Regions from separate parts of the Homo sapiens genome. Here all the other regions are linked to region 1. The links are contacts of gene promoters, found by promoter capture Hi-C in blood cells and fetal thymus (Javierre and others, 2016). All regions are on one chromosome and are shown on one strand. Each heading gives the region's core, a stretch centred on a gene start or on the middle of the fragment in contact. The rest is flanking DNA. Distances are from core to core; before and after follow the strand shown. Region 1 holds the start of SLC25A3 (solute carrier family 25 member 3). Region 2 overlaps AMDHD1 (amidohydrolase domain containing 1). Region 3 overlaps UTP20 (UTP20 small subunit processome component). Region 4 overlaps CCDC38 (coiled-coil domain containing 38). Region 5 overlaps SNRPF (small nuclear ribonucleoprotein polypeptide F). Region 6 overlaps CCDC38 (coiled-coil domain containing 38). Region 7 overlaps SNRPF-DT (SNRPF divergent transcript).

Evidence for each region. Contacts are between HindIII fragments. The CHiCAGO score rates a contact against its expected background, and 5 or more counts as called.
Region 2: a fragment that was not itself captured here is called in contact with the fragment with the promoter of SLC25A3 in region 1 in 7 of 17 cell types (non-activated CD4 T cells, total CD4 T cells, M0 macrophages and 4 more); the score reaches 18.1 in non-activated CD4 T cells.
Region 3: a fragment that was not itself captured here is called in contact with the fragment with the promoter of SLC25A3 in region 1 in 2 of 17 cell types (activated CD4 T cells and total CD4 T cells); the score reaches 10.1 in activated CD4 T cells.
Region 4: a fragment that was not itself captured here is called in contact with the fragment with the promoter of SLC25A3 in region 1 in 1 of 17 cell types (activated CD4 T cells); the score reaches 10.1 in activated CD4 T cells.
Region 5: a fragment that was not itself captured here is called in contact with the fragment with the promoter of SLC25A3 in region 1 in 9 of 17 cell types (total CD4 T cells, naive CD8 T cells, non-activated CD4 T cells and 6 more); the score reaches 24.7 in total CD4 T cells.
Region 6: a fragment that was not itself captured here is called in contact with the fragment with the promoter of SLC25A3 in region 1 in 7 of 17 cell types (total CD4 T cells, non-activated CD4 T cells, naive CD8 T cells and 4 more); the score reaches 15.1 in total CD4 T cells.
Region 7: a contact is called between a fragment that was not itself captured here and the fragment with the promoter of SLC25A3 in region 1, in 1 of 17 cell types (activated CD4 T cells). The highest score is 5.9, in activated CD4 T cells.

Annotation. Positions count from the first base shown.
Region 1 is chr12:98,591,636-98,595,127 of GRCh38, forward strand. SLC25A3 (solute carrier family 25 member 3) reads left to right here and starts at 2,051. Exons shown (of 8, transcript NM_002635.4): 1 at 2,051-2,105; 2 at 2,340-2,500. The coding sequence starts at 2,344. RefSeq lists enhancers at 1,573-1,792, 1,841-2,465, 2,043-2,142, 2,466-3,090. The HindIII fragment of the contact is 3,126 bases long and covers 1,351-3,492 here.
Region 2 is chr12:95,952,714-95,956,292 of GRCh38, forward strand. It overlaps AMDHD1 (amidohydrolase domain containing 1), which reads left to right. Exons shown (of 9, transcript NM_152435.3): 2 at 4-110; 3 at 2,198-2,262. Among named protein-coding and RNA genes, the nearest start is that of AMDHD1, 11 kb to the left of the region's middle. The HindIII fragment of the contact is 442 bases long and covers 1,898-2,339 here.
Region 3 is chr12:101,296,896-101,300,246 of GRCh38, forward strand. It overlaps UTP20 (UTP20 small subunit processome component), which reads left to right. Exons shown (of 62, transcript NM_014503.3): 13 at 2,787-2,942; 14 at 3,078-3,166. Among named protein-coding and RNA genes, the nearest start is that of UTP20, 18 kb to the left of the region's middle. RefSeq lists an enhancer at 2,417-3,351. The HindIII fragment of the contact is 2,636 bases long and covers 1-2,614 here.
Region 4 is chr12:95,894,678-95,898,361 of GRCh38, forward strand. It overlaps CCDC38 (coiled-coil domain containing 38), which reads right to left. Exons shown (of 16, transcript NM_182496.3): 8 at 312-469. Among named protein-coding and RNA genes, the nearest start is that of SNRPF, 38 kb to the left of the region's middle. The HindIII fragment of the contact is 617 bases long and covers 2,005-2,621 here.
Region 5 is chr12:95,860,059-95,863,941 of GRCh38, forward strand. SNRPF (small nuclear ribonucleoprotein polypeptide F) reads left to right here. Exons shown (of 4, transcript NM_003095.5): 2 at 1,110-1,235. Among named protein-coding and RNA genes, the nearest start is that of SNRPF, 3.0 kb to the left of the region's middle. The HindIII fragment of the contact is 5,419 bases long and covers 1-3,883 here.
Region 6 is chr12:95,936,040-95,939,662 of GRCh38, forward strand. CCDC38 (coiled-coil domain containing 38) reads right to left here. Exons shown (of 16, transcript NM_182496.3): 2 at 434-484. The coding sequence starts at 470. Among named protein-coding and RNA genes, the nearest start is that of CCDC38, 4.8 kb to the right of the region's middle. The HindIII fragment of the contact is 1,082 bases long and covers 1,007-2,088 here.
Region 7 is chr12:95,844,976-95,848,509 of GRCh38, forward strand. All of the region lies in intron 1 of SNRPF-DT (SNRPF divergent transcript), which reads right to left. Among named protein-coding and RNA genes, the nearest start is that of SNRPF-DT, 12 kb to the right of the region's middle. The HindIII fragment of the contact is 1,101 bases long and covers 766-1,866 here.

The DNA of each region.
Region 1 (3,492 bases), core at 801-3,300:
ACTTTTTCATGACAAAGGATTTTTAAATTAGAAAAGCACCATAAAGTTGAATTAACCAAAAAAGAGAGAGAGAAAGTCCAGACCCTTCAGTGACTACCTCTGTCTACATAAGATCAGACTCCTCAGTCTGGTATGTGAGGCCCTGGACAATCAGGTGCTAGTGTACTTTTTTAACTTTATCTGTCACTACTTCCCTTCCTGTGCCCTCCACTCTGGAATTCTTCCTGGGACTGTAGGACTTTAGTTGGGCCAGAAGGGCTGGGTCTGGGATAGGGTTGCTTAGAGAGTGCCGTGATGCCGCAGCCTCAATGCTAACTTTTGTTTTTTTGTTTTTTTTTTTTTTTGAGACGGAGTCTTGCTCTGTCGCCCAGGCTGGAGTGCAGTGGCATGATCTCGGCTCACTGCAAGCTCTGCCTCCTGGGTTCACGCCATTCTCCTGCCTCAGTCTCCTCAGTAGCTGGGACTACAGGCGCCCGCCACCTCGCCCGGCTAATTTTTTGTATTTTTAGTAGAGACGGGGTTTCACCGTGTTAGCCAGGATGGTCTCGATCTCCTGACCCCGTGATCTGCCCGCCTCGGCCTCCCAAAGTGCTGGGATTACAGGCGTGAGCCACCTCGCCCGGCCAATGCTAACTTTTTTTAGGTAACATCTTCTGTAGACTTTTAGACATTATCTCATTGAGTTCTCATAGACTCTGCAAGGTAAGTATTACTCCCATCCAGAACCAGACACCTGATTTGCAGGGTCCAGTGCAAACTAAAAAAAGCGTGGCCCCTTGTTCATACATGTATTAAGAATTTCAAGCCGGGCATGGTGGCTCAGGCCTGTAATCCCAGCACATTGGGAGGCCGAGGTGGGCGGATCACCTGAGCTCAGGAGTTCGAGACCAGACTGGCCAACGTGACGAAACTCTGTCTCTACTAAAAATAGAAAACTTAGCCGGGCGTGGTTGTGCACGCCTGTAGTCCCAGCTACTCCGGGGGCTGAGACAGGAGAATCGCTTGAACCCGGGAGGCGGAGGTTGCGGTGAGCTGAGATCGCCCCACTGCACTCCAGCCTGGGCGACAGAGCAAGACTCCATCTCAAAAGAAAAAAAAAAAAAATCAAAATGACAGCAGAGCATTAAATGAAGTGTAAGGCCATGTGTGACTGTACCAGTGTGAACCTATGAGGCCAGTCCCACCCCTATCTTACATCTAGGGAACAGGTACACAGAGATGAAGTAAATTCCCAAGGTTACTTTGTCAAGAGCTTGGAAAATATAAGAGTCAGAAGTCTAACAGGTTGAATCCCTATTAAACTCTCCCCAACTAAACTACGCCCCTCCCTGTTGAGCTGAATCTAATGAAAGCTTCCTAAATGTATTAACCACACACACGCACAATCTGCTATCAGTCACTTTCAGTAGTTCATCGCTGTAACATCTCAGGAGTTCAATGTTTCAACGTGTTCTGTAGATTACTGTGATAACGCGGCAAGCTGTCGTAAGACTTCTTGCTGCACATTTCTTTTTAAAATATTCTCCAGGAGTCTGATGAAAAATACAGACATACCTATGTTTAATGTCAATGGATGGAACTTATTTTAAAAAGTACTGTAATGGCAGAAGTTGTGACACAAAGTACTGCAGTGATGTTGTAACTCCAACACCTAAATATATTATCAAGCATTCGCGTTTTGTTTTGTTTTTTAAGTGACTACTAGATACTGTGATTCACTTAAGTGAAGCGAACTGAAGCCCGTGGTCAAGGAGAGACACCTGAAGGTGAAGGGACAAAGCGAGCAGGGTAAGAGCTCGAGCCCGACCCCTCTCAAAAAATATAGACCCGGAACGCGCGCCTGCGCAGAACGAATCCTCCCGCGCACAAGCCGGGCGGAAGAGCTGGGGCGGGCAGGGGCGGGAATAAGGTTGCTAGGAGAACGCGATGACGCTACGGGCTCGGCGCTCTTCTCCACCAATGGGCGACGCGTACTTGCAGTGGCGCGCTGTGTGCGTCACGCCGACGACGCGCGAAGGGCACACATCTTAGGACCCGGAGGACGTCCGGCCTCTGTGAGCCGCAACCTTTCCAAGGGAGTGGTTGTGTGATCGCCATCTTAGGGAGTGAGTGTGGCCGGGCCTTCTCCTGTGGCGGGTGTGGGGAGCGGAGCCCAGAGCTCCTGTGGGGCCGCTGCTTTGGCGGTGGGCCCAGCCGGGAGCAGCCTCTTTCGAAGGCCGCCGTGACCTCTTCAAGGGCGTGGAGACGGGAAGGAAAAGGCCCCGGTTGGGGTTCCAGGGCGCCGGTAACGTTAACCGGCGCCTTGCCTGTCCTCTAACCGTCGCTCCCTCCTCCCCTAGAAAGATGTTCTCGTCCGTGGCGCACCTGGCGCGGGCGAACCCCTTCAACACGCCACATCTGCAGCTGGTGCACGATGGTCTCGGGGACCTCCGCAGCAGCTCCCCAGGGCCCACGGGCCAGCCCCGCCGCCCTCGCAACCTGGCAGCCGCCGCCGTGGAAGGTGAGATCAGACCCTGCCCAATACAGTCGTGTGGTCTACTTGTGGGCCGCCCAGCCTTTGAGGCCTGGACCCGGCTTGGAGGACAGGGAAGGACGAGTCCAGCCCGCTGCACCGTAGGACGGCGCCCAGTTGCTTGCCCTGGGGTATCGGCCTTTTCCACCATAGGCGGGTGTCAGATCCTTGGCCTTCCCTCAAGGGCGTGGAAGCGCTGAGGCCCTGTGTCCCTTCGTGACCTCCGTGTGCCCGAGGGAAGAGAGGCCGTGACTAGCTCTTTCTCCGCCGTGAGCTCGCTTGGTCAGCAAACTAAGTACTGGGTAAACTCTCCTCCCGAAACTACTGACCACCCACAGTTCTACTAACTATATTACCTGTCCTTTGATTTGCCCTTAGTTTTCTTAAAAATAGTCCTTTCCTAAGTTTTATATTTGTCGACGCCAGGTCAGTCATTTTTGCACTTAATTGTATATGAGATAACTAGATGTCCTGTTTTCGTGCGACTGGAGGAGGCAGCTTGCAGCCCTACATAGGCAATAGAAAGGAGATAATTGGTGGGCGTCCCTTTGGTGTGATTATCTCTTGGGATTCTTGGTGGTTGGGCCCAGCTTTAACTTAGTTGTGTGTGTTTTAAATCCTAGTGAAGTATGTACATACAGAGAAACCTGAAAACCGAATTGTAGGAGTCCTAAGAATGTTATCTACCTTGTGCCTGTAAAATCGAAAGATTTTTTTCTTTAAATCATTCATGTGCTTCTGTTGTCTTTAGTATGGATAGAGTCCTTATTTACACTATCTGTCGTTCAGTTTAAAAGTTAAAGCTAACATTATTTGTGTATTAAATGTATTTGACTGCAGGAATTTGTGCGTATCCGTTTTTATGTTACAGGAGTTCTTAAGTGGGGATAGTATTGGTTAGTGGCTGGGATAAACTTTGAAGTTGTTTGCAAGCCTTTTACATGTCGAGTGATCTTTCTGAGTTTCGTTTGTACTCTGAA
Region 2 (3,579 bases), core at 869-3,368, 2.6 Mb before region 1:
CAGAGATGGATTTATAAAAGCTATTGGTCCTGCTGATGTTATTCAAAGACAGTTTTCTGGAGAAACTTTTGAAGAAATAATTGACTGCTCTGGGAAATGTATTCTACCAGGTATTTACCTCTTTTTCAGTAAAGGTCTACAAGTAGCTTTAACAGTTGCTCCTGAAATGTAAAGAGGAAGAGTAACAGCTTATTTTAAAGTCTCAAAATAATATTTAAAAAAAATCATCGTTCCATGTATTGAATTTCTATTATTGAATGTATAGCTGCTTTCAAACATGGTTTCACCTTGAATCCTTATAACTGCCCTGTGTGGGAGGTATCATTATCTATACTTTACAGATTAGAAAATTGAAGCTAAGGGTGAAATATGTTACCCAAGGTTCCTAAACAGGAAACAGACAACCTAGGAATCAAGCCCATTCATTCGACTCCACTTCTTCCCACTCACATGCTGAATAGAAACCAGCTGTGTTGTGTTTAGGTTCAAAAACAGTCAAAAGAACTTTATTAATCCATGGCATAGGAGAGGCTAACAAGGCAGCTGCTGTCTCTAATACTAGAAATACTCTAAATTTGTATAGGATGTGAAACAAAGGATCCAGCTCTGGGCAGAAAAAGAAAAACAAAAATCCTAGAGCTTTCACTGCAGTTCACTTGTATCTTTGATGATTGACAACAGAATCAGTTTATTAACCATCATCTCCTACATTATGTTGTATGGCTTCATATAATCATCCAAAACAAGTTTCACAAACTTTCAGTTCTACACAAACAAAAGGGCTTCATATTTATATTTTTTTATATAAAATTTTTATACTTTTAAATATTTATTGTACACATCTGACAGAGCTTCTAACTGATGGGTTTTCATTTGTTTGTTTATTTTGAGACAGTCTCACTGTGTCACCAAGGCTGGAGGGCAGTGGTGTGATCTTGGCTCACTGCAACCTCCACCTCCCAGGTTCAAGCAATTCTTTTGCCTCAGTCTCCTAAGTAGCTGGATTACAGGCATGCACCATCATGCCTGGCTAATTTTTGTATTTTTAGTAGCAACAGGGTTTCACCATGTTGGTCAGGCTGGTCTCAAACTCCTGATCTCAAGCGATCTGCTGATCTCGGTCTCCCAAAGTGCTGGTATTATAGGCATGAGCCACCACGCCCGGCCTTCCTTATGATTCTTGAGAGTCAGGAGACAAAGTCAGGGTGAAATGTTATGAAAAAGAGGAATATAGCAGAAAGCAATCTGAGTAGGCGCTTTTGATTTTAGTCCAATCAGAGCCAATAATGAGTCATTTAATCCATAAGGTATCTAAAACATTTTGGAAAGACACACTTTACTGAATTGTACCTGGATAAACAAAAGTTTCAAGTGATTGCTTTACAGTTTCTCCTTAATTAAAATACATTTCTTTCTTGAAAATAGATTAATCTTTCTGATTTCACATTTTCCCTTCTCAGAGTTGCAGGGGGAGGGGATTGTAGTATTGTTTTCATATCCAGATTATTCCTTGTGATAAGGTTCATGGTTTTGCCAACTAGGGGGCTTGACAACCTAATTTCAAAGCTTATTTGGGCCAGGAGTAGTGGCTGATGCTTGTAATCCCAGCACTTTGGGAGGCTGAGTCAGGCAGATCATTGGAGGCTGAGGCAGGCAGATCGTTTAAGCCCAGGAGTTCAAGACCAACCTGGGCAACATGGCAAATTTTAGCTTGTGTGGTGGTGCATGACTATAGTCCCAGCTACTAGGGAGGCTGAGGTGGGAGGATTGCTTGAGCCTGGGAGGTCAAGGCTGTAGGGAGCTGTGAGTGTGCCACTGCACTCCAGCCTGGGCGACAGAGTGAGAACCTTTCTCAAAAATAAATAAAATAAAATAAAATAAAATAAAATAAAATAAAAGCTTATTTGGTGAGCATGGACTTACTGAGCAAAAGGAGCTGTATTTCTGTAAGGGATATTTTCATCATGTTGCATCACCTCCTTCATTAGAGCTTTCTAGACCAACCATACAACAGGGCAGTCTTCTTTTCTCTCTATCAAGGGAACCAGACAGACAAATTCTTCCTTTCATGCTCCTCCAAAATGGATGGCCACCATCACACTTTCCCCAGAGCAGCAGGGTATAGTGCTGCTGTTTGCCTGCTGTCTAAGTGCTCTCTATTTCTTAATTGTAAGATAACTTGATTTATTGATTATAGGTTTGGTGGATGCACACACACATCCAGTATGGGCTGGTGAAAGAGTTCACGAATTTGCAATGAAGGTAACTGCAACAAATCATGGCAAATCAAAATAAAGCACAAATATGAAGTCTTTTGCTGAAGAGTTAGTAGGCTATCAAGCTTTGCAACATATGTCAACATATTTTTTAATGGATATTTTTACTTGCTTGGGTATGGGAAACAAATGACAACAAAACTTATTTATAACTGCCCCAAATCATTGTATTATACACAGGGCTATTCCTGCCCACTAATGTCTCCCTCTCTTTCCTTCCCCACATTCCCATTCCAAATCGCTATCTCTAGTAGCTTTTGAAAGGGCTCCAAGGAATAGTTTGAAAATTGCCATTCATTGGAGTAAAGCTTGGAAAAATATGTTACTAATCACAAAAATAAAATACCTTAATTTTTCTGTTATAAACTGAGACTTATTAAGAATCACAAAATGTAAGCTGTGTTAGTCCTATATTAGCTGTAACCAACTCCTAAATCCCTGGTTGGAGAGATTTTCACATGTGTTTTTTAAAAAAGAAAAAAAAAGATGTGCCTCCTAGCAGCTAAACTGGCTTATTTCAGGAAAAGAAAAAAAAAATTCTTTTCTTCAGCTATCATGTACCTGCTTCAACAAACTAGAGCTGTTTTTAAGATTGTTTTATTAAATCACAGAATTTCAGAGCCAAAAGCAGTCCAATCCTCTCATTGTATAGACGGAGAAAGAGATTTACAGTCCAATCCTCTCATTATGTAGATGGAGAAAGCTGGGTCTAGAGAAGGGAAGAGTGTTGACTAGCGTCACCAGCTGGAGGATGGCAGAACCCAGATGAAAACTCCGGCCAGGAGACCCCAGGCCTGCATCCTTTCTCTGCACCACACTCCTTGCTGCCCAGAGTAACTGGAGCCCAGTGGGACCCTAGAAAGAGCCTCTTTGAGTGACAAAGATCAAGCTCCAAACTCGGATGGCCAAATATTGAGACAAGGAAACTTCCTGGGGCCGCTTTAGTGGAGATCTGAATAATTGCAATGGGGTTCCCTGCAACTCCTGAATTGCCTAAGCTTTGTTTTCTCAAACAAGCTGAGGGATGGAGGGAGGGCTGATACTTAGCAAGTACACATTGCGGGTTGATTGACTTGTTAAAATATTGCAATACTCCTGTGCCAGTTTTGTTTTGTTTTGTTTGTTTGTTTGTTTTTTGAGATAGAGTCTCGCTCTGTCACCCAGGCTGGAGTGCAGTGGTGCGATCTCAGCTCCCTGCAACCTCCGCCTCCCGGGTTCAAGTGATTCTCCTGTCTCAGCCTCCAGAGTAGCTGGGGCTACAGGCGTGTGCCACCATGCCCCCGCTAATTTTTGTATTTTTAGT
Region 3 (3,351 bases), core at 47-2,546, 2.7 Mb after region 1:
GATTTATTGTATCATTTCTCAAATAGTTAAGTGGGTATGCTTCTAGAAACTGTAGCTTAGGAAACCAGTTCCCTTGTCATTCCTTTGTTTTTATACTTAATCTTCTTATTTCTCTTGGAGTAGTTAGACCCGTTGTTGTGTTTTTGGTTTGCTTTGAGGCGGAATTGATGGGCATTCCTTGAGTTTGTGCTGAATACTCGACTTTGAAACATCCATGGAGGTGGGAGTTACTGTCCCACAGTCACAGAGCAGAGCTAGCTTTTGAGTTTGATCAGCTTGAGGTTCTGGAGGAACCTATTTTCTTTTTTAAATGTTTTATTTATTATTATTATTATTTTAAGAGCAGGTCTTGCTCTGTCACCCAGGCCGGAGTGCAGTGGCACAATCACGGCTCACTGCAGCCTCGATCTCCAGGGCCCAAGCTATCCTCTCACTTGAGCCTCCCAGGTAGCTGGAACCATAGGCACGCACCACCATGCCCAGCTAATTTTTTAATTTTTGTAGAGACGAGGTCTCGCTATGTTGCCCAGGCTGGTCTCAAACTCCTGGACTCAAGTGATCTTCCTACCTTGGCCTCTCAAAGTGTTGGGGTTACAGGTTGAGCCACTGTGTTTAGCAAACTCATCTTAACACCTACTTATATCTTCTGTATACCTTACAAATTGCTTCTCTATTAAAATATGCCAACAGAATCTTGTTGGTTTTTAAATGTATTGAATTCTGATTCCTGAGGAATGGGTAGTGAGTAACTCCAATAGAATTATTCCTTTGAAACTTTTCCCTTGATTTGTCAACACCCAAGCCCATCTCCAACAGGCAGATTCCTTGCACATGCCAAAACTGAGTTCTGTGCAGGGAGAGTGAAGCTGCTTTGTTGTTTGGCTTCCATGAGGTGAAGCTAAGGGACTGACTGAGACTGGGCGTCAGACCTTCTTACCCCATCATCTCAGCCATCTCAGATCCTCCCAGGAGGGTGACGTGTTAAATAAATAAATTTCGATGTGCTAACTCATGGCAAGTTCTTCCACTTCTGTGTTTCTTTCTCTGCAAAAACACCCCTCTGCCACCCCCAACGGAGATATGGTATGTGTGAATGGTCACCTTTGTTTTGATTCCTTCTATGAAGATTTTAAAATCATAGTTTGAATATTACTAGTAACACTCTATCTACCCATCTCACCAGTTTGCTGTGAGAAAAAATAAAGATAATAAATGTGAAAAGACTCTTTAGGAGATAAACTTACTGTCGTTTGACAACTACTTACGGTATCAGGCACTGGATACTGGGGTGCAACAAAGAATAAGAAAAAAGTTCCTTCTTTTGGGGAAAGGAATGTGGTGAGGCGGGTAAGCAAATAAGCGAGATGATTTCAGATCCTGATCGTGATAAAAGAAGACAAAGCAGTGTTGAGAGGGAGACTGAATGGAGAGGGGTCACTTTCCAGAGAGGGAACGTTTGGTCCAATTTTAAGCTGGGAAGGATCCAGCCTTGCAAAGATCTCAGTGAGAGACTCTCCAGACAGAAGGAAAAGTTAACTGCAAAGACTCTGGGACAGGAATAAGCTCAGCATGTTTGAAGTACAGAAAGAAAACCTCTGTGGGTAAAGAGCAAGGAGGAGATTGGGGTGAGAGGAGATGGAGGTGGGTGAGGGTCAAATCACAGAGGGCCTTACAGGATGACTTAAGGAGTATGGACTTCATTGGTGGAGCCATTGGCAGGTCTAGAAAACGGGAATGACGTGGCAACTAATGACTCATTTTTGTTTTTTAAAGCATCTTAGTATTTTGTAAGATTTTTGCAGATTGTTGAGTCATGATTATTACTAAAAAGACTATATATATCAAGATGTGGTGACTTTAAGGAATTGATAATTAAATTAACTTAGTTATCTATCATGATTTCCAGACACTAAACATCCTGGTAAGTATGAAACAAAAGAGAATGTAGCTTTTTGGAGAATTTTTTTTCTTTGTTTTTGTTTTTTTTTTTCCTTCCTTCCCCTACCTGACCATTTTTTGGTGAATTTTAATGATAAAAAGGGTGCAAGAGTAAAAACCTGATATTCCACTTCTATTGCATAACAAGCTAACCAAACTGGAGTTGGAGGATAATTGTAAAACAGATCATTTAACTTAAGATTTCTGTGATTTTTCTTTTGATTAGATTTTTGTCTTTCAAATAGGACCGAGGTGTAGTACATTGGCAAAAATAAAAAGAGGCTAACAAGAATAGTTAGCCTCTATCTAATCTGTGACCAGAGTCACAGATATTCAAAACAGAATGTCATGTCGAAAAATGTCATTGAGCAACTGTGTATCTGATCAAAGCAGCAGGAGAAAATTACTTATATGTCATAATCATTTTAGTGGTATTCGTCAACTTCATCACAGTAACTTTGCAACATCATTCTACATTTGTGGAAAGTAGTAAAATTCATGTCAAAAAGGAAAGGGAGAATGGAGGAAGTCAGTTCATTCCAGTGAATTGTCAATCAAAAACATGCCCAGGAGCACAAAATTGAGAAATCATACTTAAAACTAGAAGAAACTTGGTTTAAGTTATAAAGCAAATTAAAATAGAAGTGAAAGGAAGTAGAGCCAGTGGAGTTGAAAAAGCTTCTCACTGAAAACTCAGTAAATGACTCACATTTGTTTAGCTCAACCACCACCACCAATTCCTTCCCTCTAATGCTCCACAATGGTAAGAATCCAATTTTATTTCAGACTTCAGAGGGCAAGAGCGATTACATTCTCTGTTATTTTAAACATTTTTTTTAATCCTTCAGATTCTATATAAAGCAGAAGAAGACTAGATCCAAGGGAAGAAACGAACAGTTTCCAGTATTGGACCATCTTTTATCTATAATTAAGTTACCCCCAAATAAAGATACTACTTACCTTTCACAATCTTGGGCAGCCCTCGTGGTGTTACCTCATATTAGGTAAGAAAATAAGCTATGTTTAATTTTGAAAGAGATAACATGCTGATTAAAATATGTTAGCCATTCCTTGCTGTTCTCTGAAACAAACCATTGAATGCCAGTTTGAACTTTTCCCTTTTTCTCCCCCTTGGACAGACCTCTTGAGAAAGAGAAGGTGATACCACTCGTCACCGGCTTCATAGAGGCACTCTTCATGACTGTTGACAAAGGAAGCTTTGGGAAAGGTCAGTTACAATCATCATGTGTTCTCTTCTCTTCTTTTCTGGCACACTCAAAGTAATTGTAAACACATGAGCTATTAGAGAATAATACTTACATTGTGTTCTGGCATAACCCCCTGGATGATAAATCTGGAAGAAATGAGGATATGATGGGCATGTCTCACTTGTACCACATAATGTGGTGACTG
Region 4 (3,684 bases), core at 1,063-3,562, 2.7 Mb before region 1:
AGCCCCCACCAGAAATAAACACTGGCACCACACTTCTTGTGCAGCCAGCAGAACTGTGAGCCAAATAAACCTCTTTTCTTTATAAATTGCCCAGCCTTAAGTATTCCTCTACAGCAACATAAATAGGCAAAGACACTTTATATCTGAAATTAGCTCAAGTTTCCAAATTAATGATATACAATAACAGAGATAGTGAAAATCTTAGTTTAGATCCTGCTTAAAAAAATATCTATTTAGATAAAAAACATTGAAGCAGATGATTTTAGAGTTAGGGATATTTAGTTCATGAAAGTTGAGTATAAGTAACTTACTTGCTAATATTTTTGGAAGGATGATATTTGCTTTACTTTTTGATGCCTGTGCTCTTTTTAGTGCTTGCTGGATTTGCCAATGTTTTGGAGACATTTGCAGCAGAAAAAAACCATATTTCATATACTCCCTGAGGAGGAATTCTGTTTTTGCTATTTCACTACTCAAAAGAAACAAAGATATGATTAGGTATATCAGTGTGAAAGCACATTCATTAGAAAAAAATTTTTATAAAATTGTTTCTCTTATGTACTGAATTAATAATTTAATTATCAAAAAGGATAAATATGGCCATAAAAATATGGGCTTCAGTGAATATGAAATGAGATGAAGGAAAACTCTAGGAATGCTGTTTAAATAAAACATGTCCAAGGATATGCACACATAGAATAGACATGATAGTTTTACTCGACTTGTTTATTATTCTGTAGGAAACACTGTATTAAGTTTTAGATATAGGGAGAAATTAGAAGGTAGCAAAAGGGCCGGGTGCAGTGGCTCACACGTGTAATCCCAGCACTTTGGGAGGCCAAGGCAGGCAGATCACCTGAGGTCAGGAGTTCAAGACCAGCCTGGCCAACATGGAGAAAACCCGTCTTTACTAAAAATAGAAAAAACTAGCCAGGTATGGTGGTGGGCGCCTGTAATCCCAGCTACTTGGGAGGCTGAGGCAGGAGAATCGCTTGAACCCGGATGGCAGAGGTTGCAGTGGGCCGAGATCGTGCCATTGCACTCTAGCCTGGGCAACAAGAGCAAAACTCTGTCTCGAAAAAAAAAAAAAAAAAAAAAAGCCGGGCATGGTGGCTCACCCCTGTAATCCCAGGACTTTGGGAGGCCAAGGAGGGCAGATCATGAGGTCAAGGGTTCAAGACCAGCTTGGCCAACATGGTGAAACCCTGTCTCTACTAAGAATACAAAAATTAGCCAGGCGTGGTGGCGCATGCCTGTAATCCCAGCTACTCAAGAGGCTGAGGCAGGAGAATCACTTGAACCTGGGAGGTAGAGGTTGCAGTGAGCTGAGATCACGTCACTGCACTCCAGCCTGGGCGACAGAACAAGACTCTGTCTCAAAAAAAAAAAAAAAAAAAAGAAAGTAGCAAAAGATGGTACATTTGTAAGGAAAAGAAAGAAACTAACACTTAATGAGGACCTATTACTACAGGCAGGACACACTACAGACATAGGCTGATCCTCAGGACAGCACTTTAAAATAGGTACTATTATTCTTATCTTGGAAAGGAGATGTAAATGGTAGAGCCAGCACTCAAACCTAGGTCCATCTGACTCAGATGCCCAAGCTCTTGCCAATATTGAGTGACTTGGACCAAAAGCTTTTGCCCAGCTTCACATTGCGTTATAGTAATTACATTACAAAGTGGACAAAGAGGGATGTTAAAATAACAAAAGAAGGCCCACTTGAAAGGGAGCTTCCAAACCTTTATCTGAAAGATATCAATATTACTTTGTATCAATGTTTTCAGCTTTAATACTTCTATCTGTCAGAGCCTTCCTTCAGCCCTGGTGCAAGAGTGATATTCAAGGGTCAGTAAATGGCTGCTTCACGTATCACCAGTTGGAAGATTGATGGGAGACCTTCATTCTACTGCTGCCTCCGTTTTAGATTGAAATCCTCCCAGATATGCTACAAAGAACACGAGGTGACAATTGGCTGGAAAGATACAGTTTCCAAGCAAAAGCTTCAGAAGATGCCCCCTTCCCTTTCCAGCCCTACCCGTAGAGGAGGCCTCCTGGGGCCATCTCGAGCCATAAAGAGAGAAGAGCACCTGCTGCCCTTGCTCCACTACAGGCTTGTTTTTCATGATCTCCTGCACCTTTCTAGATGATGTGATACATCAACGATCAAGTTATCTTCAGCAAGACCATTTGGAGGGCTCAACTCGGCGGCTATTGTGCATAAATGCAATACTTTGCACAAAAATAGAGGCTGCTACTCTAGCTCTAGAAATAATCTATAAATGGATAGAAACTTCTAATTGCATCGGGGGTGAAAGAGAGAAGGAAATTCTCCATCTTGGAGCAGCTTCAGCTTTAGGCTCCTAAAATAGAAGAGCCTGCTGTAGCCAGAATATGAAATGCACATTCTGTTAGTGCAGTTGGTTTCAGAGAAACCAACTCTGCTTTATTTCAGACTCGCTTGTCTGAAGGATGTAAGAAGCCTAGGACCTAGTTCTAGAGGGGAGGTAAGCATCAAGTTCTCAAAAAGGAAAAGTAAGTTTTAGCATTGACCTGATACCAACACTACAGTGTATTCTGAATCATGAAATTACTGTCCAAAAATGATGACAGAAGGAAGCTTCTTTAGCTACTTAAAATTAGTTAGGCCGGGCGCGGTGACTCACGCCTGTAATCCCAGCACTTTGGGAGGCTGAGGTGGGTGGATTGTCTGAGGTCAGGAGTTTGAGACTAGCTTGGCTAACGTGGTGAAACCCCATTTCTACCAAAAATACAAAAAATGAGCCAAGCGTGGAGGTGGGCACCTGTAATCCCAGCTACTCAAGTGGCTGAGGCAGGAGAATCGCTTGAACCTAGGAGGTGGAGGTTTCAGTGAGCCGAGATCATGCCATTGCACTCCAGCTTGGGCAACAAAAGTGAAACTCCCTCTCAAAAAAAAAAAAAAAAAAAAAAATTAGTTCAAGTGAGTTTCCTTGACCATAGAAGGAAACATCCAAGTTTGAAAAAGAGTGGCAGATGGTACAATTTTATCCCAACTCCTGCTCCAATGCTTTTTTCTCTTTATAGATCTTAGTTTTTTATTTTTATTTATTTTTACTAAAGATGGGGTCCCACTGTGTTGCTAAGACTTCACTTGAACTCCTGGGCTCAAGCGATCCTCCCGCCTCAGCTTCCAAAGGAGCTGAGAGGCAAGCAGTGTGCCCAGCAGATCTTAGTTTTTAATAGCAATACTAGTTTCCACTATGTAAGCGTAAATATAAAAAATACTGCCCATGATGACTGTAAGATGATCGTAGAATGAGTCCCAATTTCAGAGATGTTAAAATGTGGGGGAAAAAATGTCTCAGAATGAATGCAAAAGTGCAACCAGACTAAACTAAAAATATAAAAAGAAAAAAATGAATGAATGAGGAAGGGCACTTAGATAATAATTTATTGTTTATTCCTAATTGTTTTGCTTCATCTAACTTCTTTGCTTCTGTATCTACAAGTTAGAGAGACTTTCCAACCGGAAGCCACATACTGTCCTGATACCCAGGCAGGAACAAATCTTGATGGACAGGTTACTTATTTTTTAAAATTCGTTCATACTTATGACATCATCAACTGATAAGGATGATCAGGATTATTAGGTCTTACCTGGCATGAATAGGTTTTAATGGGTCGTGGAAATTTGGCCAC
Region 5 (3,883 bases), core at 1,096-3,595, 2.7 Mb before region 1:
GGTGAGTGAGCAGAAGAGGGCAAAAACCGAAATCACTGGAGATGTTAATGGTTTGCTGAATAAATAGACATTAAGTAATTGCTGTAAGTAAGAGGCGGTGCTACTGACAAAGTCAGATAGGACCTAGCCCTAGCTTCCCCAGTTAAATACTGTCAAGCGTGATCTGCCCTCTGCTTCCTTCTGTAGTTTTATATTTGGGGCTTTGACTGACAATGCTGAATTGTATGTCCCCAAAACCACCTTGTTGCATCACTCTTCCCTCCTTTTACATAAGTAGCTAGCCTTGCCTGGAACAGCATTTTTTCCCGCTCTGGAAATAAACTCTTATCCTTTAAAACTGAGGTATTACTTATTTCAGGCAACCTTTCCTTTTTCCCCTGGATTGCTTTGGTACCCTTGTGCCTAGTATATCTCCTTTTACTACAGTGCAGCATGCAATATAATTATTTGTATGTGAGGAGTTCCCCTCCCCATCTCCAACTTCTTGACAGGGACTCATTTATTTATTTATTTATAAGAGACAAGGTCTTGCTCTGTTGCCCAGGCTGGAGTGCAGTGGCCTAATCATAGCTCACTGCAGCCTCGAGCTCCTGGGTTCAAGCAGTCCTCCCACCTCATCCTCCCTAGTAGCTGGGACTACAGGTGTGCACCACCACACCTGACTATTTTTGGTAGAGATGGGGGTCTCACTATGTTGCCTGGGCTGGTCTTGAACTCGTGACCTCAAGTGATCCCCCGGCCTTGGCCTTCCAGATTACTGGAATTACAGATACGAGCCACCCTACCTGGCCCGCTTTTTTTTTTTTTTTTTTTTAGTGCCTTTATCTTTGTTTCTTTAGAGCTCAGAACAGTGAGTGATGTAGGTAGTCAGTGTATCTTAAGTGAATAGTCAGTGTTTTGTTTTGATGGGTTAAAGGTGAAATTGGCTAACTGGATATTTAAATTTCCCTGGTACTCTCAACAAATAAAAGTGAAAATTATGTACTAAAATAATAAGGAGTCAAAAGTTTTCTTCATTTGCATACCACAAAATATTGGTGATTCGGTAGAAGAGAGTTGGTGGTGGGAGGAAAAATAATTAATTAGATCCTTTTTTGTTCTTTGTGCAGAGTTTACCCCTCAATCCCAAACCTTTCCTCAATGGACTAACAGGAAAGCCAGTGATGGTGAAACTTAAGTGGGGAATGGAGTACAAGGGCTATCTGGTATCTGTAGATGGCTACATGAACATGCAGGTAAGCTAAAGAGCTGTAAAGGTCATAACATTGCATTTATTTTGCTTCACCTTATTTCTCAAAGGTTTAGTCTGACTAATAAGAATACATACAATTAAATTGACAAATATACGGCAAAATTCAAAAATAAAGTCAAAGCCAGGAGGGATACTGTGATATACTAGGTACAAGACATGGACTTAAACCAGAATTCAGCTACAGATTTTATTCCTAGTAGTTAAAGTAGGAAGAGCTCAGACACTTGATTCATAATAATACCATAAGGGAAACACACTACTTTGCTGGAGAAAACAAAACATTTCTCATCATTTAGCCCTGAAAGAAAGTTTTCAAGTGAAATTATTGAGTCTTTTAATGAATGCTAAAGGCACAACACCAAAGCTATTGAGGAAATTCATTCCTTCAGGGGAAAGACAGATCTGCCAAAGGAATTGAACTGACTGTATGTCTGTCAAACGAGTTTCTGTAAATGATTCAGCCATGTGTTTTGGTGGGTTTTTTTGTAATTAATTATCTTTTTATTGTGGTAAAATATACATTACAATTTTGCCACTCTAACCATTTTTAAGTGTATAATTCAGTGGCATTAAGTACCTTCACATTGTTCTGCAGCCATCACCGTTGTCCATTTCTGGAACTTGTTTACCATCCAAAAGTGAAATTTTTTGCCCATTAAACAATAATTTTCCATTAAACAATAATTTTACAATTAAACATTAAACAATAATTTTCCATTCCTTCCTCCACCTAACTAACCCCTGGTAACCACTAGTCTACATGTCTATGAATTTGACCGTGCATAATACCTCATGTAAGTGGAATTGTGTATTATCCTTTTGTGTCTGGCTTGTTTGACTTAACGTAGTGTATTATTCAAGGTTCATCCATGTTGTAGCATGTGTCAGAATTTCCTTTTTATGACTGAATAATATTCCATTATATGGATATACCACATTCTAATCCATTTGCCTCTTGGTGGACACTGGGTTGCTTCCCTCTTTGGACTGTAGTAAATAATGCTGCTGTGAACATGGGTATACGAATGTCTGTTCCAGTCACTGCTTTCAGCTCTTTGGGGTATATACCCAGAAGTGGAATTACTGGATTACTGGTAATTCTATGTTTAATTTTTTAAGGAGGCCAAGCGTGGTGGCTCATGCCTGTAATCCCAGCACTTTGGGAGGCTGAGGCAGCAGATTGCTTGAGCCCAGGAGTTTGAGACCAGCCTGGGCAACATAGTGAAACTGCATCTCTACAAAAAAAATACAAAAACTAGCTAGGCATGATGGTGTGGGCAGCTATATTCCCAGCTACTCAGGAAGCTGAGTTGGGAGGATTACCTGAGCCTGGGGAGGTTGAAGCTGCAGTGAGCTGTGATCACTGCACTCTAGCCTGGATGACAGAGAAATTTTTTTTTTTCTTTTGAGTAACTGTCACACTATTTTCCACAGCAGCTACGTGGTTTTACATACCCACCAGCAATGCACAACGGTTCCAGTTTCTCCACATCCTCACCAACACTTGTTATTTTCTATGGGTGTTTATAAAATAGTTATTCTAATGGGTGTGAAGTGGTATCTTATTGTGGTTTTGATTTGCATTTGGCTAATGATGTTGAGCACCTTTTCATGTGTTTATTGGCCATTTGTTTATCTTTGGAGAAATGCCTGTTCATGTCTTTTGCACATTTAAAAAATTAGTTTGGGATTTTTTGTTGTTTTTTTAATGGTAGTAGTTTCCAGGCAGGTTTTTAAAGGCTATCAAGACAGGTGGTCAATCCAATCATGAATCCAAGGATTCCATACTTGTAAGCAGAGTACTAAAAGGAGTACTTAAGTAGGCAGAGAGCTATGATTTTCCTTAACTTAGGCAATTACCACCTGAGCACATGACATTAAGGCCCCCAAAGCATAGTTTGAGTGTGGAAAATTCCTTAAACAGGAGTCATTTACCAAGACCATAGAAAAATCTGGGAAGTATATGAATTGTGATGAAAATATTCTGGAAGTAGTGGTGATAGTTGCACAGGTTTTTGAATATACTGAAAACCACTGAATTGTACACTTTAAAAGGGTGAATTTTATGCTATGGAAATTAACATCTCAATAATAAAAGAATTACCACTTAATATTTGTTTTAGAATTAATATAGCTTGCTAGTGACCCTGCTAGAGTTGCAAAATGTCTGAGTAACCAACCACTTTGAGTAGTCAACCATATTGATACCAGTGTTTGAATTTGTTCACTCAGCAAATATTTATTGAATTCCATTATGTGCCTGGCACTGTGAATATAGCATTGAACAAAACAAAGTCCCTGCCCTCAACAGTTTATGGTTTAGTGGTGGGAGGTGGTAATATAATGTGATAATAGGCATGATAGATGCCATCCATGAAGAAAAGGGGGAAGACAGTATGTGCAATATTATATAGAGTAGCCTCTCTGAGGAGGCGAATTCTGGAAGATACCAGAATTAGTGTACAACTCAGTTGAGTATCTGGGGAAAAGCATCCCAGTTTGAGGGAACAGCAAGTACAAAGGCCCTGTGGCAGAAGCATGCTTGGTGTGTTCAAGGCACAGCAAAAAGGCCAGAGCAGATTGAGTTAAGGGACGAATGACAGAAAGTTAGGTTAAAATGGCGGCCATAGA
Region 6 (3,623 bases), core at 298-2,797, 2.7 Mb before region 1:
TGCACTCCAGCTTGGGCAACAAGAACGAAATTCCATCTCAAAAAAAGTAATTAATTAAATAAAATAAAATAAATAAAAATAAAAAATAGGCAGAAGGATAAGATGAGAAAGGGTGGGAAAGGAAAGAAGAGGGCAGATTTTCATAAAGTTTAGTTAGGTATGTCCTTGACTATGACAAATAATTGAGTTACTTGTTTTCTGTCATGAGAGACTGGGGCAATCTGGCTAAATATGACAATTTAATGCACCCTCTGATTTGAAGATTTTTTTTTTGAATTAAAAAGTAGAACAGAATCTTCTCTGCAGGTAGTTTATAAACTCATTACATTTTATATTTATGGTGTAACATTCTCCTTTTCTTATGCTCACAATCTGTTATGGAGCCTAACACTGCCAGGCCCAAACAAGAATATATTGATTGATTTCTTTTTACCTCCAGAATTCAGTGTTGGCAATAAATTTGAGGACATTTTCTTGCCTGGCCCTGTTGAAAGAAAAAAAAATACGTTTTTTAAAAATTCTATGAACATCATATAAAAGGGCTAAATTCAACTGCCAATGACTCCTTAACAGTCCTTATGGCTTTTAAAAGCAGTGAGCACACACATACTCTTTGACCCAGCAATTTCAATTCTGGTATCTTATGTCAAGAAAATAATCAGACAAGCAGCCAAAAAAGCATGTGCAATAATGTTTGTTCAATGTCATTTCATAAATACAGAGTTGACCAAATAACTATGGTATATCCATAAAATAAATTCCAGTTGGCCCTTAAAATGATGCTGTAGTCACTATTTACCTCTCTCCATGGTATTGGTTAAAAAACAAAACATTTCAAAAGAGTAGGGATAGTGTGGATTAAAAAATGCATGCAAAAATCTGAGAGGTGTTTGAAATGCCATTCATCAAACATGAATCTTGATTACATGTGATTTGGTGCAGTCTCTCATTTTTACCAGGTTTGGGATTAGGGTTAGGTGATTGAGGCACTCAATCTTAGCTGCAAAGCTTAAGGATTGCCAAAATAAACAAACAAAAACAAAACAAAAAAATCAACTTTCAGTTATTATGATAAATTAAATGTTAATGCAATATATTTTTATAAAATTCCAAATAAATGCAGGAAATTCTATAATGAACAAAATATCAAAATTGTAAATACGGACAGTCTCTGACCCTGTACTTGTGTGACCCTGAGAGCCAGTGCCTCACTCTACTCACCCAAATCCTGGCCCACAGAACTTGTCTCTATTTAAAATTCTGTTATTTCATTTATCATGAATTTTTTACATTAATTTATATATTTAAAATAGTGAATTAAAATATTGCTTATTTTGATTACTGAGTTTTTGCTTTCCCCTTAAATTTTATGCATGAAGCTAGAGCTTCACTGGCCTTACCCTAATCCTTGTTCTGATTTCTATACTTTGAGTATCATTCAAATTTCTCAGTGAGCTGGTGTAACTGTTACAATGAGAAAAATAATAAAGATATATTCATTTTGGGGATAAAGGACACCCAGGAGTTTATATTTAAAAATGTGCCCGCAGCAGAAACAATGGACAACACATTCTATTTTGGGCTACTCATTTAAATATGTGCCTCAGGAATCTCAAAGAGCCATATATAAGAGCTAAATATCCCGGAAGCAGAGCAGCAGATGATTAAGAACACAGACTTTGGACAAGCCTGATTTTTGAATCTTGGTTTGGTATTTACTTATGTGTGAGCAAGTTCATGTATCATTCAAAAAACATTTATTGAGTACCTACTATGTGTCAGGCACTGTTCTACGTGTGGGGGACAGGGCAATTTTTAAAAAGACAAAAAAGAACAAAAACTATTGTCTTCATGGAGCCTACATCTTAATTACTCAGCATCTCTGAGCCTCTGCTTCCTGTTTCATAAAGTGGACACACCTCTTAAGGCTTTCTTGAGGATTCAGTGGGCAATGGATTTAACCAAGTGGGGTGCCTGGCTTACAGACCAGCTCAGTAAGTGGGAACTATTATGTGCTAATATTTACTAATTAGCATCTGATTTTAGTTCCAGTGGTTATAAAAACAAATATTTAAAAAATTATGTCAAAGCTTATAAAAGAGAAAAAAATGAATAAAAACTATAACATTGACATTATACTTTTTCAAATGACTGAACATTTTTTCACAGGCATTAAATTCATTCTCACGGGGGAAAAGAAAGATCGGTGAAAAATTGGTGACAACCTGTGGTTGATGAGTATTTGGAATTTGGATGGCTAATACTAAAGATTTGTAGATTTTCTCAATTTTACACTCTGTACTCATCTCCACTCTTAGGATTCTGATCACCTCTTTCTTGTCACATTTTCACTCCTTTGGTCCTTCTATCTATCTAAATTCACTCTCCTTCCCACTCTCATTCCCTTTATCCTTAAAGTCTTTTTGCAATGAGCATCTTTATCCATGGGTTCAAGGACTTTTTCACTCACAGAAAAACTGGAAGTTCTGTTCCTTTAAACCAATTGCTAAGAGCAGATATCTGCTCTTATTCTGTCTCTATTATATAGTTCATATAACATGTAAATGCAATCAGCAGTCTCCAGATGTTGTTATACTTCTATACTTCCATATGCATGAATTCCTGTATTGATGAATGAAAGGTTGGTGAACAAAAGGGAGGGAGAGGAACAGAACCAGTTATTGTTAGGAAGGGATTATAAAGTCCCCTTTCCAATCAGAAAAAATGTTGAAGTCAGTGGATGTCTTTGTTGTGCGAAATAAAAATAGCATGATGGCTAAACAAAGGCTCTGTACCAAAAGAGAGGGAAAATGTTATTGGATTGCATAGCAAATGCCTGAAAGTTCACATCTTAAATACACGTTCACATCCAACTTCCAATAGATGAAAAAGATCAAAAGCTCAGAAATATCAGGAATGTAAAATGGTGGTGTATAACTGCCAGCCATCCATTTTAGAGGTCGCATAAGCTAAATGATTAAGAACATAGACTCTCTCTATGTCCCTTAATCCTCACACTTCAATTTCCCCATCTTTCAAGAGGAATGATGCAAATAGTATCTACCTTGTGGGATTGTTAGGTAAGTTACCACGTCCAGCCTTTGGATGGCCTCAGTTGCATAGTATGTGCTATGGGAGTGTAAGCACATGGAGAGGTGCACTCTGAGGGAGGAATGTGCCTGGTGTGTTTCAGGAACAGTAAGGACACCAGTGGGCCTTAAACACAGTGAACAAAGGGGACAGCACCCCAGATGAAGCCAGAGAGACAAGAAGTCCAAGATCACGAGGGCCCTGGAGGCCATTTTCTCAGTGAAATGGAACCATTCAATGAATCACTCTGATGCTGAGCTGAGAAGAGACTGTAGAAAGGGAAAAGGGTCACACAGGGAGATCTACTAGGAGACTACAGCCACTGGGAGGCAAGAGATAATGCTATCCCTTCCTTGGGATAGCAGTGGAAGTGGTGAGAGGTGGTCCGATTCTAGATGTGTTTTGACAGTAGAGTCTACAGGATTGGCTGATGGTTTGGATGTGGAGTATGAGATAAAGAACTGATTGCAGAAAGGATGGAGTTGCCATAAATGGAGACAGAGAAGGCAGTGGGGGAAGGGGCACTTGGGAAG
Region 7 (3,534 bases), core at 66-2,565, 2.7 Mb before region 1:
GCCACCACACCTGGCTAATTTTTGTATTTTTGTAGAGATGGGGTTTCACCATGTTGTCCAGGCTGGTCTCAAACTCGTGACCTCAAGTCATCTGCCTGCCTCAGCCTCCCAAAGTGTTGGGATTACAGGCATGTGCCATGCACCAGGCCAATTTAACCCATTTTATGATAAGGAAATAGACAACATCCAGTAGACCCTCTGGCAATAGAGATCAATGGTTGCCTACCCCAAACAGCCTACTGGTGTTAGAACCCCTGATTCTCAGCAGGGCATAGGGCCACTGGGACTGTAAGAATCCTTTTCCATCCTCCCTTGCAGCCAGTGTGGCCGTGTGACCAGGTTCTGGTCAACATGCTATGAGGAAAAGAATTGTGCAGCCACTTCCAGAAAATTTCCTTTAAAGATAGCTGGTGCTTGCCCTTTTTTCCCTCCTTCCTCCATTTAACCCTTCGACTACGTATGTGGTAGTTAGAGCTCCATCTGGGATGATGAAGATGAGGGTCATAGCCTAAGAGGGCAGATCAAAAGCTAGGGGCAGTCAGGGTCTCTGAAGATTTCAAGCAGCAAAGCGTCACCCCAGTATTGAACTATTCACCTTTACAAAAGAGGTCAATAAACTTTCTTTTTGTTAGGCACTTCTTGTGTTACTACAGAGATATATCTGAGGCTGGGTAATTTATAAGAAAAGATGTTTAATTGGCTCACAGTTCTGCAGGCTGTACAAAAAGCATAGCGCCGGCATCAGCTTCTGGGGAGGCCTCAGGAAGCTTCCAACCATGGCAAAAGGCAAAGAGGGAATGGCGGCGTCTCACATGGCAGGAAGGGGAGCAAGAGAGAGAGGACCTGGAGGTGCCACACACTTTTAAACAACCAGATCTCGCAGGAACTCACTCAATATCATGAGGACAGCATCAAGCCATAAAGGATCTGCCCTCGTGACCCAAACACCTCTCACTAAGCCCCATCTCCAACTTTGGGGATTACATTTCAGCATAAGATTTAGGGGGACATATATCCAAACTGTATGATTCAACTGGTTTAAATCATCCTTAATTTGGGTCTTTGTTAATCATAGCTGAGCATAATCCCAACCTAATTACCCTCTATAAATTATAGTTCCTTTCCTCAATCCTAACTAAGTCTCCTTCCATAAATAACAGCTCCCTCTCTCATCCTTAATCTTTTTGCTTTAATTTGCCTTAAAATCTACCAGTCTATCCTGTTTACTTTACTTCAGTAAGACTTTAATATACTGATAAATAATAGGTTCTTTCCTAAGAGTTAATCACCATATTTATGAACTTCTCTTAAAATATTGACTATATGATTTTTTATAAGAGATTTTTTTTTACCTTCAGTCACACACTTCTCAAATGATTTTTCTAGCATTGTGTATTTTATTAGATCAATTTGTGATATAATTCCTTTGCTCTTATTTCGGCCACCCATGAAATAGAAGAGATAGAATAGAAATGGAAGGCTAGGCATGGTGGCTCATGCTTGTAATCCTAGCACTTTGGAAGCCAAGGCAGGCGGATCATCTGAGGTCAGGAGTTCGAGACCAGCCTAGCCAACATGTTGAAACCCTGTCTCAACTAAAAATACAAAAATTAGCCAGGTGTGGTGATGCATGACTGTAATCCCAGCTACCTGGGAGGCTGAGGCAGGAGAATCTCTTGAACCCAGGAGGCAAAGTTTGCAGTGAGCTGAAATCGCACCATTGCAGTCCAGCCTGGGCAACAGAGCAAGACTCTGTCTCAAAAAAAAAAAAAAAAAAAGAAATGGAAAGAGAAAAGGAAACTGGAAAAGAATAAGAAGAATAGCCCTTCCTCACAATTTTCACATTAAAATAGTATCACATAATAAAGCTTGACTAAATTTTTTTTTTATTTACTTGGAATACTGGTATACTGAAACAATTGGAGGGTGTCCAGAAAAAATTAAAATTCTTTCCCTCTATATTTTTTCTTTTGTATTAGTTTTTATTATAAACATCAGTTTAAAGGGGATTTATAGTTTGCTTCTGTCTATCCTTCATTTCTGAATAATCCTGTCTAAAAGTATGAGGTGGGGCTGAGCAAAGTGGGAATGGGGAGGTCAGCGCGCTCTGGAGTGGTGGCCCAGTTCATGCTGTTAGAGTCAGGCAAGGCTGTCTTGCTGGGTTGGGTGGGAGGGGGGATGGTAGTGGTGATGGAAGTTTGGTTACATGGAGGGGATTGATCAGATAAGTAAACAAATTGAGGATGAAGGGAGACAGTTTTCTAACTGTTGGGGAAGGGACTACAAATATGGAAACTGAAAAAACTAAAATAAGCCATGTGGTGTTGAACTGGAATTTTCAATAGCGATATTGAAACAAGTATGGATATGGTCATATATGCATGCATGTATGTATGTATACACATGCATACGTTCTCTAGTTTTGTCCAGTGAGAGGGACTGGAAGCACCAACACCCCCCTACCAAGGAGCGTGCCTATTGTCTAGACCAATCTTTAGTTTCCTAAATGCCATTCTCCACTAAAACGAAGCAGTGTTTTTTGGAGAATTGACTGATTCCAGGTTTGGGACAGGGAACATCTTATTGGGACAGAAAATAAGGAAATGCTCAAAGAATGAGGATGACATGTCAAAAGAACACAGAAGACAGCTTAATGGGGGATCCCCCTGTCCAAATATGTGACAATTAAGGCAGAGAAATAACAATAGTAACAGATTATAAATTCATGTAATAAAATAGAAATTCATGAGTCCTTAAAATAAAGAGCATCAAAATAAGTAATCATGACATGATTAACCCACTAAATAAAATAGAATCTATGAGTCCATACTGATATAAATAAGTGGGAAAAGGAGAAAGCTTTTCTTACAGTGGAATGCCAACTGATGCATGGAGAAGAAATGATGGAGTCAGAAAATCACCATTTGGCAGCCAGCATAAGTAACTGATTTAGCTCAGAAATACAGTGGATGCTAATATGCAGTAGGTGAAAGTTTGAGGAGGAATGAGATAACTACATAGCCTCAAAGTACCTTCACAAAATACTTCTTAATAATACAATTTTAAAAGGTAACTTTGCAATGAAGAAACCTGGCAGATAGTTCCCTAATCAAGAAGTTAAGGCTAATAGCACAAGTAATGGAGCCAATAGAATATATAGGCTATCTAGGGCCGGGCGCGGTGGCTCATGCCTGTAATCCCAGCACTTTGGGAAGCCGAGGCGGGTGGATCACAAGGTCAGGAGATCGAGCCCATCCTGGCGAACACGGTGAAACCCCGTCTCTACTAAAAATACAAAAAAAGTTAGCCGGGCGCAGTGGCGGGCGCCTGTAGTCCCAGCTACTCGGGAGGCTGATGCAGGAGAATGCTCTACTGTTCAGTATATTCCATTCTTTTGAGTAAGAAGGGTGGACACCCTGATTCCACCCCCCTTTTTTTTGGCATATATATATATATGTTTGAATTGGTGCAAATTTTTAAAGTCCAAGTCTCTCAAGTCAGTTATTCATTAATTTATTCATTCCAGAAATTTGC